Linked DNA regions of Homo sapiens: region 1 is linked to region 2. Evidence: promoter capture Hi-C in human tissues and cell types (Jung and others, 2019). All regions are on one chromosome and are shown on one strand. The core of a region is centred on a gene start or on the middle of the fragment in contact, and the rest is flanking DNA. Distances in the headings are between cores, read along the strand shown.

Evidence for each region. Contacts are between HindIII fragments. The study calls those that stand out against the background at their distance.
Region 1: a contact is called between the fragment with the promoter of SYTL1 here and the fragment with the promoter of GPR3 in region 2, in 6 of the 25 tissues and cell types used here (IMR-90 fibroblasts, adrenal gland, aorta and 3 more).

The regions. Positions count from the first base shown.
Region 1 is chr1:27,337,708-27,343,271 of GRCh38, forward strand. SYTL1 (synaptotagmin like 1) reads left to right here and starts at 4,315. Exons shown (of 15, transcript NM_001193308.2): 1 at 4,315-4,443. RefSeq lists enhancers at 3,936-4,195, 4,726-4,775, 4,950-5,564. The HindIII fragment of the contact is 14,194 bases long and covers 1,238-5,564 here.
Region 2 is chr1:27,389,044-27,394,569 of GRCh38, forward strand. It overlaps GPR3 (G protein-coupled receptor 3), which reads left to right and starts at 3,579. Exons shown (of 2, transcript NM_005281.4): 1 at 3,579-3,694; 2 at 4,751-5,526. The coding sequence starts at 4,756. RefSeq lists enhancers at 2,195-2,731, 2,732-3,268, 3,806-4,341, 5,170-5,526 and a silencer at 3,283-3,782. The HindIII fragment of the contact is 10,052 bases long and covers 1-5,526 here.

The sequences.
Region 1 (5,564 bases), core at 3,065-5,564, 51 kb before region 2:
GTGGCATGAACCCGGGAGGCGGAGCTTGCAGTGAGCCGAGATCGCGCCACTGCACTCCAGCCTGGGTGACAGAGCAAGCCTCCGTCTCAAAAATAAAAATTAAAAAATAAACCAAAGACAGCCACAGTAGAATAGATAGAAAAAAGGCTTAAGGCCTGCGTTAGCCTAGCAGAATTTAAAATTTGCCTGGGGGAAACAGGACATAAAATTGTGCCATAGAAGTCACCAACAGGGTCAGCCACAGTGTCCAGCACTTTGGGAGGCCAAGGCTGGAGGAGGGAGGGAGCCCAAGAGTTTGAGACCAGCCTCGGCAACAAAGTGAGACCCCATCTCTACAAAAAATTAAAAAATAAAATTAGCTGGGCATGATGGTGCGTACCTGCAGCCCCAGCTACTACTCAAGAGACTGAAATGGGAGGATAGCTTGAGCTCAGGAGGTCAAGGGTGACAGAGCAAGACCCCGTCTCTCCCTCTCTCTCTCTCTTTTTTTTTGTTTTGTTTTTTTTTTTTTTTTTGAGATGGAGTCTTGCTCTTGTCACCCAGGCTGGAATGCAATGGCATGATCTCAGCTCACTGCAACCTCCGCCTCCCGGATTCAAGCGATTCTCCTGCCTCAGCCTCCCGAGTAGCTGGGATTACAGGCGCCTGCCACCATGCCCGGCTAATTTTTGTATTTTCAGTAGAGACAAGGTTTCGTCATGTTGGCCAGGCTGGTCTCAAACTCCTGACCTCATGATCCGCCTGCCTCGGCCTCCCAAAGTGCTGGGATTGCAGGTGTGAGTCACCATGCCCGGCCTAAGGCCCCGTCTCTTAAAAAAAAAAAAAAAAAGTCACCAACAGTTAGCGAGTGCTTACTCTGTGCTAGGCCTTGTAATAAAATACCATCTTAGCCTCACAACAGCCCTGCAACAAGGTAAGTGCCATCATCCCATTTTACAGATGAAGAAGTAAGCAGAGAAGTAGTGATTTGCTCCGGGTCACAGAGGTAGGAAGAGTGGAACTATGGTTCAAACCCAGCAGCTGGGCTCCAGAGCCCCCACTCAGAGCCACCCTGTGCGATGGCCTCACTGGAGCACAGGAGTGGAAATGAGAGGTGCTGTGATGCGAAAGGAGAATGGCCGCGGAGGTGAAAAACAAGCTCTCCTGACAGCAGCAGGCCTGTGAGATGGCTATTGTCCCCACTTCATAAAGGAAGAGAGTGAGGCTTACAGGGATTGTCATTGATCCCAGGCCACAGGGAACCATGCGGCAGAGCCAGATTTTAACCCAGATCTGCTGGCCTCTAGGACCCTGCCTCTTAATGTCCCTCTTAACAGAGGGATGTTGCCTAGAGACTGGCTGCAGCGCAGGGGCACTGAACTCTGGAGGAGGCTGAGCTAGTCCTGGAGCTGGGGAAAAGTATTCCCACAGGGAGCACAGAAGGCCCAGGGGTGTTGAAGGACAGGAAATAGCCCACAGCTAAGGCTCTACGGGTATAGGTGACGAAGGGGAGAAAGCCAGAGTAAGGGCAGCAATCCTGAGGGTCAGGCTGAGGGCCAGGCTGTCCTGGGAAGTGGTGAGACTTCCATCTCAGGACGTGTCTAAAGGGGACTGGACTGGTTTAGAAATGTATGAATGGGCCCGAGGGATGGCCTGGCTGTCTGCTGGCACCTTCCAAACCAGAGGATGACAAAGAAAAGTACGTTTGAAAGTTGTGCAACATAGGGCCAGAGTGGCCTTGTGTGGCCGCAAGGAGGCAGGAGAAGAGGAGGCTTCCAGAAGAGGCTGAGCGGGGACTGAGACCTGGGCAGGGGGAGGACAGCAGAGACACACAGATGGGAGGGCACCTGGAGTGAAGTGTGGACAGCATCTGGAGGTGGCAGGAAGCAGCAGGAGGCCAGGGGCCAGGATGATGGGGGCTGGTTACAGAGGTGGAAACTTGGAAATAGGTTTCAAGTGGGGAAGAGGCCAGAGGAATGCAGGTTGAGACACAGCAGGAGAGATGGCTGGAAGTATCAGCGTCAGGGAGTCACAGCTATAGGAAGGACAGGAGAGCAGAGAAAGGAAGGGAAATTTAGAAACCCGAAGACCAGATAATGAAGTTTCATGCCTTCCAGGAGGAAGAGCTGCTAAGGAGGTGAGAGGAGGGCAGAGAAACATCCTTGGGGGCGCCAGGACCAGGATGGCAGGAAGGGGTGTGGATGTTCTTGGCCACTCTCCTTCCATTTTGAGGGCCTTAATGAAGGAGGCAGCATCACAGTAATGGTCCCACAGCAGCTGCTCCATGGGTATTGCATGTGTGGGTGCATAAATGCATTAATCAAGAGTACTGGGGTCTGGGCAAGGTGGCTCACGCCTGTAGTCCTAGCACTTTGGGAGGCTGAGGCAGGCAGATCACATGAGACCAGGAGTTCGAGCCCAGCCTGTCCAACATGGTGAAACCCCATCTCTACTCAAAATACAAAAATTAGCCAGGCGTGGTGGCGGGCGCCTGTAGTGCCAGCTACTCGGGAGGCTGAGGCATGAGAATCACTTGAACCCAGGAGGCGGAGGCTGCAGTGAGCCAAGCCAGCCTGGGCGACAGAGCAAGACTCCATCTAAAAAAAAGAAAAAAAAAAGTCTGCAAGGATCTCACTGAATTTTAGTGAAAACCCTCTAAGGAGAGATTACCCCCATTTAACAGATGAGAAAAATAAGATTAATTTGCAAAAAATAAGTAGGGAAGCCTCCACTGTGGTTCTGAGGTGGAGGAGGGTCCTCTGTCTCTCAGTGGTGGTGGGAGTCGGTTCTGATTACAGGAAGGAAGAGTGGGTGTTTAGTTTTCTTTTCTTTTCTTTTCTTTTTTTTTTTGTGACGGAGTCTCGCTCTGTCGCCCAGGCTGGAGTGCAGTGGTGCGATCTCGGCTCACTGCAAGCTCCACCTCCCAGGTTCATGCCATTCTCCTGCCTCAGCTACTCGGGAAATAGCTGGGACTACAGGCAGCCGCCACCACGCCCAGCTAATTTTTTTTGTATTTTTAGTAGAGATGGGTTTTCACCGTGTTAGCCAGGATGGTCTTGATCTCCTGACCTCGTGATCCACCCGTCTCGGCCTCCCAAAGTGCTGGGATTACAGGTGTAAGCTACCACGCCCAGCCTTGTTTGCTTTTCTGAGACGGAGTCTCGCTGTGTTGCCCAGGCTGGAGTGCAGTGGTGCGATCTCGGCTCACTGCAACCTCCGCCTCCTGGGTTCAAGCGATTCTCCTGCCTCGGCCTCCCGAGTAACTGGGACTGCAAGCACCTGCCACCATGCCCGGTTAATTTTTGTATTTTGAGTAGAGACGGGGTTTCACTATATTAGCCAGACTGGTCTCAAACTCCTGTCCTAGAGTGATCCGCCCACCTCGACCTCTTAAAGTACTGGGATTACAGGCATGAGTCACTGTGCCCAGACTGGTTTTGTTTAGAATCCACCCCTTGTCCTGCCTCTCCCAGGGGTCTATGAGGAGCCCACTAATCTTTAATCCATGGCCCTAGGTTCAGGGGAGGGGGTTGGGCCAGGGCAGGCCATGGGAAGTGAAGTGGACTTGGGGGGAGTCAGAAAGCTTTGGTGTGGCCTCTTGTGCCCAAGACAACCCAGGAGGTTCATGGTCCTGAAGCCAATGTAATCTAGGGCCCAAACCTTCTAATCTCAGGGTGGGCAGAATCTAGGTGTAGAATGGGGTGAGTTCAGGGGGGCTCCACATAGACAGAGGGTGTGGGACCCTCACCTTGGCACTAGAAGAGTTCAGGCCTCCTCAAACAGATGGGGCTCAGGACAGCAGAGGGGACAGAGAGGGCTGCTCTGCCAGCATGTCCCAGAAGTGCATGTGGATATAGAGGGCAGCAGCTGCTGAGATGGCCGTGGGCATTAGGCTATGCTGGAGTGGGGACACCTCACCCCGACTATGCCAGCTCGCACCGGGCACTTTCACTTCCCTTAGTATAGGCTCCTTGCACTCTGCTACCCACAGTTTGCATCAGAAGAAATGGAAGAGACCTGCTTAAGGTCACATCACACACCCACTGGCAGAGCAGGGACTCTGCACAGGGTGGTCTAACTGCAAAGTCTGCCATCCTGCCATTCCCCTTGGGGCTGGAAAAGAAAGGTTTCTAACTTGCTTTCAAAGCGAGTTCCTATCAGCCCCGTTGTGGGCAAGGTGGGGCTGCTACCCGTTCTAGAGGGCCTGCTCAGTGGAGCTGGGGCCAAGCTGGGCCTCTCCAGTCGGCTGCGGGGGCGCACCCCCGGGCGCTGGGAGTCCAGGCCCGGTTTTGCATCAGGCCCTGCCGAGGTGTTTCCTCCTCCTCCGTGTGGGGCAGCTGCTGGCTGGGCTGCCTGTTGAGTCAGCCTTCTTCCCTCACGGCTCTTCTCCCGGTCCCTGAAACTCGGCTGCCAGGGGAGCTGGAGCCACCTGCGAAGGTGTCCTCCCATACTGGACCCCTACAGGTAACACGTGTCGGTGCCAGGGTCCCCTGCCAGGGTCCAGAGACGCAGGCACTGCCACCTGGTATCCTGAGCACCCTCCAGCACCTTGGGGTTGGGGGAGGTGGGCACATGTCTGGAACTGGAACAGCTGGACAGATGGACAGACCCTCCTCTTGACCAATGGGTCTGTCCCACCGTGTCAAAACAGCAGAGAAGACCAAACTCCTACCTAACTCTGGTAGGAGATTCTGCCTCTGGTTGGTAGGAGAGGGGACTTCAGGGAGGGGGCACTGCTGAGGACGCTGGGCTGATGCCCATGGCCCAGCTCAGGCAGGCCTGAAGGACAGAAATAGGCTCAGTTCTGCCGAACGTCCCCCCGGCCTCCATCCACACTCAGACACACACACCTGGTGGCCCCCAAGGCACCAGGGGACACCCCACAGCACACAGCCCAGTCACACATACAGCACAGGAGGAAATGCACAATGCATACTGTACACACCCCACACGGCGCTGTCACCTAGAAAGTCACTGAACACACCACACAGACAATATAGTCACCATGCAGCATCACACTGCAACAGGACACAAAGACACACAGCAACTACACAGCTCACAGACTCACGCAACGCAGACATGCCCACCAGACTCGGACCCACACAGCCACACAACAGGGCACAGAGAGGGACGTGGGCTCACACCCCAATCCACAGGGGAGGCCGAACGTGGGCTCACACCCCAATCCACAGGGGAGGCCGAACGTGGGCTCACACGTTGGCCACAGAAGTCCAGGGAAACTGCTGTTGTGGAGCACACAGGTATCCACAGAGTGAATGCACACCGTGCAGCCGTGCTGAGGCCTTCTGCTCCTGAGGGTGTCAAGAGGGATCGCTGGGGCTCGGCCACTGACTCAGCTGGGAGGGGACAGAGCATAGCAGGCGGCGGACACAAGCCAGGACCTGCCCGCCAAGCTGCCTCCGCCGGTCTCAGCCCCACCTGGAGCCGTGGCAATGGAAGGGGCGGGGAAGAGAGGAGAGGCCGCCCAGTGGGCTCAGGACACAGCCCTGACCAAGTCATGGGCCCCTTGCCACGTCTACATGCCCCTCAGCGCTGGGCAAATGCTTTCTTTCCGGAGTCACTGT
Region 2 (5,526 bases), core at 2,329-4,828:
TCTCTTGGCTCTCCTGGGTTTCTCGGGGTTAGAAATGTCACTGCATGCCGGGTGCGGTGGTTCATACCTGTAATCCCAGCACTTTGGGAGGCTGAGCAGGGTGGATCACCTGAGGTCAGGAGTTCAAGACCATCCTGACCAATATGGTAAAACCCTGTCTCTACTAAAAATACAAAAAAAAAAAAAAAAAAAAAAGCTGGGCATGGTGGCGGGCACCTGTAATCCCAGCTACTTGGGAGGCTGAGGCAGGAGAATCGCTTGAACCCAGGAGGCAGAGGTTTCAGTGAGCCGAGATTGCACCACTGCACTCCAGCCTGGGCAACAAGAATAAAACTGTCTCGGAAAAAAAAAAAAAAGGAAAGAAAAGAAATGTCACTGCACTCTCTTTTCCTCTCTGGCTGCCTTAGGATCAACTTCCCTTGCAAACAACAGGATAACTATCAGGATCAGGAAGTTCATGACCAATACTTCAGTGGAAATGATGGTCTTCCGTGTCCTTCACCCTGGGAAGACAACAATACCTAAGACAGAAAACTAGTCAAAAAGTAGAAGACCACTCTGGATTTCATCTTTGTATTTAGAACCCATTTTGGGCTGGGCACAGTGGCTCATGCCTGTAATCCCAGCACTTTGGGAGGCCAAGGTGGGCAGATCACTTGAACCTACGAGTTCAAGACCAGCCTGGGCAATGTGGCGAAACCCTGTCTCTACAAAAATTACACGCCTTAGCCAGGCGTGGTGACACGTGCTTGTAATCCCAGTTACTGTGGAGGCTGAGATGGGAGGATTGCTTGAGTCCAAGAGGTTGAGGCTACAGTGAGCATTGATTGCACCACTACACTCCAGCCTGGGTGACAGACTGAGATCCTGTCTCAAAAAACAAACAAACGAAAAAAAAAGACAGAACCCATTTTGGTGGTGTTAAGACAACTGGCTTGGTTATGATTTATGATTCCTTGGATTATGCAAAGAAAAATTAATCCAAACACAGACTTGCAAGACATAAAAGAAAAAGACCTCAAGAAAACAGCTAAAGGAACTCAAGAACAGAATGACGACAGCCAGGGAGTCACAAGAGTGTGGTGCTGGTGCTGGCAAACAGGAATGGCTTTATCTGCAGCAATGGTGAAGATTTTTCACCAGAGGATCAATAAGCTACGAAAACTTAAAAAATATATAATTGCCATTCAGAGTAGTAGAAGATAGTCCCTGATACCCCCCTTTGATGCCAACCTCCCAGCAGCCTTCACCCATCGCAGAGACCAGAACTCTGTAGGGACCCAGCTCTGATGGGGGAGTAAATGGATCCCTGACCCTGAGTCTTGGGGCCCTGATGCCCTTGGATCCTCTCTCTGACACCCCCACCTTCCTGGGCACCAGGCATATTACTATTCTCTCTGTTTTCCTTTTTTCCTCTGGTTGTTCCCTTTTAGGTCAATCATCCAGTCCATGATTATTTCTTCAATACCCATTACATATCAGGCACTGTTCTCTAGCAGAAATGGGACATAGTCAGTATCCTCTTGGAGCTTAGATTCTAGTGGGGCTGACATGTAGTAAAACAAACAAACATGAATTCATTTATAATTTCAAGAGTGCTTCATCCTCCAAAAATGAATAAATCAAGAGAAGGGGAGGGAGAGTGATGGGGAGGCCAGTGGCGATCTGAGAGTTCAGAGCAGCCTGTTTCAGAAGTAATTCGGGAGCAGAGACCTGGATGAAGAGAAGGGTTGTTGTCAGAGGGGTCAGGTGCAAGAGCCCAGGAGGAGGAGCCCCTGAAGCCACTCCTCACTCTCTGCTCCCGCCCCTGGGTGACATTATTTACCCCTAAAACATCAGTTGCCACCTGCATGCCTACACCTCCCAGGTGTCCCTCATTATCCAGCTGTAACATTGATGGCCAATGGCAAGTAGAACCCACTCAACAACCCCATGAGGCCGGTACTAATATTATCCCTGTGTTTTAGATGAGGAAATAGGCACAGAGAGCTGAAGAAACTCTCCAAAGTCACCCAGCTAGGAAATGGAGAAACTGAGATTGGACACTTCCACCCCCTAAGCCCCCTAAACTCACCACATCCAACCTGAAATGAATCCTCTTCTCCAGCTCCGACCCCCTCCTCCTCCCATGTTCCCTGCCACTTGACCTTCTGCTGCCTCACACTCAAACCCAAAACCTGCCTGGTGGAGGCTGACCATGGGGGCTGCAGTGATGGTGCTGTGATGGGGGTGTCCAGTGGGGCCTGGGATCCTCAGGCCTCTTAACCTCATCTTCCCCTCCCACAGGCCTGCATGATTCCAGGGAGCATCAAGGCAAGAGACACAGGGAGAAGGAGCAGCCAGTCCCCCTGCCGCAGGACTGGCCACATCTGTCACATCTGGAGAAGTCTGCCCAGAGTGGTTCCCCTGGACTAAGGGCAGATGGCGTTGGGGAAGAGGGAGCTCTTTCTCCTTGCTCCACCCATCAGGATGCCTAAAATAGGAGGCTGAGAGGGGCCTGCCCTGAGGACTGAGCTGCCAGGCTTTCTGCTTCCAAGTTCTTCCCGGCTCCCCATCTCCTCCTGCTTCAGGGAAGTGCACCCCTCACCCCCTCCACGCTGGCTTTCTAGATACTGGAATAAATAATTCAGGTTTTGAAATCTTGCCAGGCCCACCCCTCCGGTGCTGTGAGGGCGCTATTGGGCTGACATGAGTGACGTCACCCAGCTCTTATCCCAGCCCCGGCATCACGGGACTTGCCCTGGCAGCAACTTACCTGCCTGGTCACTGTCAGTCCAGACCCTCTACCCTGTGCCCCTCACCCTGGAGCCCACTCACCACAGCCACCTGCTATCTTCGTTCCAGGGCCCCACAGTCCTCATGGCTTAGCATTGTCGCTTCAGTACCCCAGCCATTCTGACAGGGTAATGGTGACCTGAAGTCACCTGGACACTCCATGTTCCCAGGCCGCTGCCTCTGCCATCCCGGGGTCCCTGAACTCCCCCCTGCTGCATAGTCACCCTGACACTGCCATGGTTGCCCTGAGGGCTTCCCCTCTACCGTTAGCGTCCCACGGCCATCACCCCCCACCCCAAGATTCTGTCACCATGCTAATGTCGTCACTGCCACCCACCTCCCCGCTCCCTCGTGCTCCCTGTCATCGTCACCTCAGGGCCCCATCATCTTGGAAACCCTGTCATTCTCACCAGGGAAGCCCAACCAGCCCCATCACAAGCTCTTCCTTCGTCACCTGGATCTCGTCAGCCTCTCTGCCACCCAAGGGTCCCATCACCCCACAGCCTAGCCGGGCCCCCTTTCCACTCTTCCACCACGTTCCCTGCAGCCTCTCTGAGACTTCAAGGCTCTCGCACCGGCGCCTCTGAAACCCCCGGCCCGCAGAGGGCGCCGCGTCAAGGACAGCGCGGGCGGACTCGGGAGGGGGCGGGGCCGCAGCCACGGTCGCTTTTTATGAATGGGGGAGCGGGCGGTGCGAGGCCTTATTACTATGCCGCGCAACGCGCGCTGCGCCCCAGCGCGCCGCGCCCATTGGCTGATCGGACCGCTGACGTCACCGAACCGGTGGCCGGGGGCGGGGCGGGGTGACTCACGCCGCTTCTCCCGCGGCCGCGGGGGCTTCTCGGGGTCCACGCACGCCCTGCGCCGCCAGGACCCGAGCGGAGCCTCCCCGCGGCCCGGCCGCGCCTGGTCCTGAGCGGTGAGTAGCGGGCCCCGCCGCGGGCACCAGGGGTCCTGAAGGGCACGCAGGATGCTGGGGCACTGGGCCGGCGGAAGGCTCCTAGTGGCCGGCCGGGGTTCGAGTTCGAGGTGGGAATTCTGGGTTTAGGCGATTCTGGGTTAGCAGGCTTGGGCCCAAGTGCTCGAGTGCTGGGGTTGAGTTGGATGACCCGGCGAAGGGTAAGCATTCCTGCAGGGACCCGAGGCCCTGGAGGGACTGATGGTCATCTGAGGTTAAGCCGGCAGGAGGCGTCTGGGGCAGGGACCCAGGGGTCCGAACAGCAGGAGGTGTCCAATTTAGGAATCCAGGTATCCAGGCAGGAGGCAGAGTCAGGCCCAAAATCCAGGTGTCCGGGCAGAAGGAGGCATCTGACTCAGGGATCCAGTCTTCCAGCAGGGGGGTCTGCCCAGAGACCTAGAGATTCAGGCGGAAAGAAGGGTCCAGCCAGGAACAGAAGTCTGGGAGGGTGGGGGGTGGGGGGCTGAGTTCCCAGGTGTTACCGCGGGAGTGCGGGGTGATGGCTGGCGGGAGCTTCACGCGCATTCCCTGGGGGCGGAGTCTAAGGCTGGCAGTACTGAAAATCGTGAGGGGTCTGGGAGCCTCAGGCACGAGCTAGCATCATCATCTCTGATGGGAGGGAGCGGAGCTGCTCAGTCTCCCTGATGGGGTAGATGTTTCCCTACCCCAATCTTGAGCCTTCGGGGGCATCCCCTGGATCCTATGGCCCTCTTCCACTTATAGTACCCCTTCTTCTGTCTCTCCTCTGGTCACACACGTGGGAAAAAGAGACCTGCAGGACCTAGGACAGGGATCCCCAGGAAGAGACCCCTGTTTAGAGGCCTGGGGGCATTGGAGGGGACAGCGGTATCCTGGGAAGAGCCCCAGGGCATGAATGTGGGGATAAGGCATTGGGACCCTATCAGGTATCCTGAGGAGAGACTCCCACCACGTATCCTGAGAAGCACCTCACCCCCTCCAGACCCCAACTCCCATCACCCAGCTTGGTCAGCTTCTCACAAGGCCTTTCTCCTGCAGGTACCATGATGTGGGGTGCAGGCAGCCCTCTGGCCTGGCTCTCAGCTGGCTCAGGCAACGTGAATGTAAGCAGCGTGGGCCCAGCAGAGGGGCCCACAGGTCCAGCCGCACCACTGCCCTCGCCTAAGGCCTGGGATGTGGTGCTCTGCATCTCAGGCACCCTGGTGTCCTGCGAGAATGCGCTAGTGGTGGCCATCATCGTGGGCACTCCTGCCTTCCGTGCCCCCATGTTCCTGCTGGTGGGCAGCCTGGCCGTGGCAGACCTGCTGGCAGGCCTGGGCCTGGTCCTGCACTTTGCTGCTGTCTTCTGCATCGGCTCAGCGGAGATGAGCCTGGTGCTGGTTGGCGTGCTGGCAATGGCCTTTACCGCCAGCATCGGCAGTCTACTGGCCATCACTGTCGACCGCTACCTTTCTCTGTACAATGCCCTCACCTACTATTCAGAGACAACAGTGACACGGACCTATGTGATGCTGGCCTTAGTGTGGGGAGGTGCCCTGGGCCTGGGGCTGCTGCCTGTGCTGGCCTGGAACTGCCTGGATGGCCTGACCACATGTGGCGTGGTTTATCCACTCTCCAAGAACCATCTGGTAGTTCTGGCCATTGCCTTCTTCATGGTGTTTGGCATCATGCTGCAGCTCTACGCCCAAATCTGCCGCATCGTCTGCCGCCATGCCCAGCAGATTGCCCTTCAGCGGCACCTGCTGCCTGCCTCCCACTATGTGGCCACCCGCAAGGGCATTGCCACACTGGCCGTGGTGCTTGGAGCCTTTGCC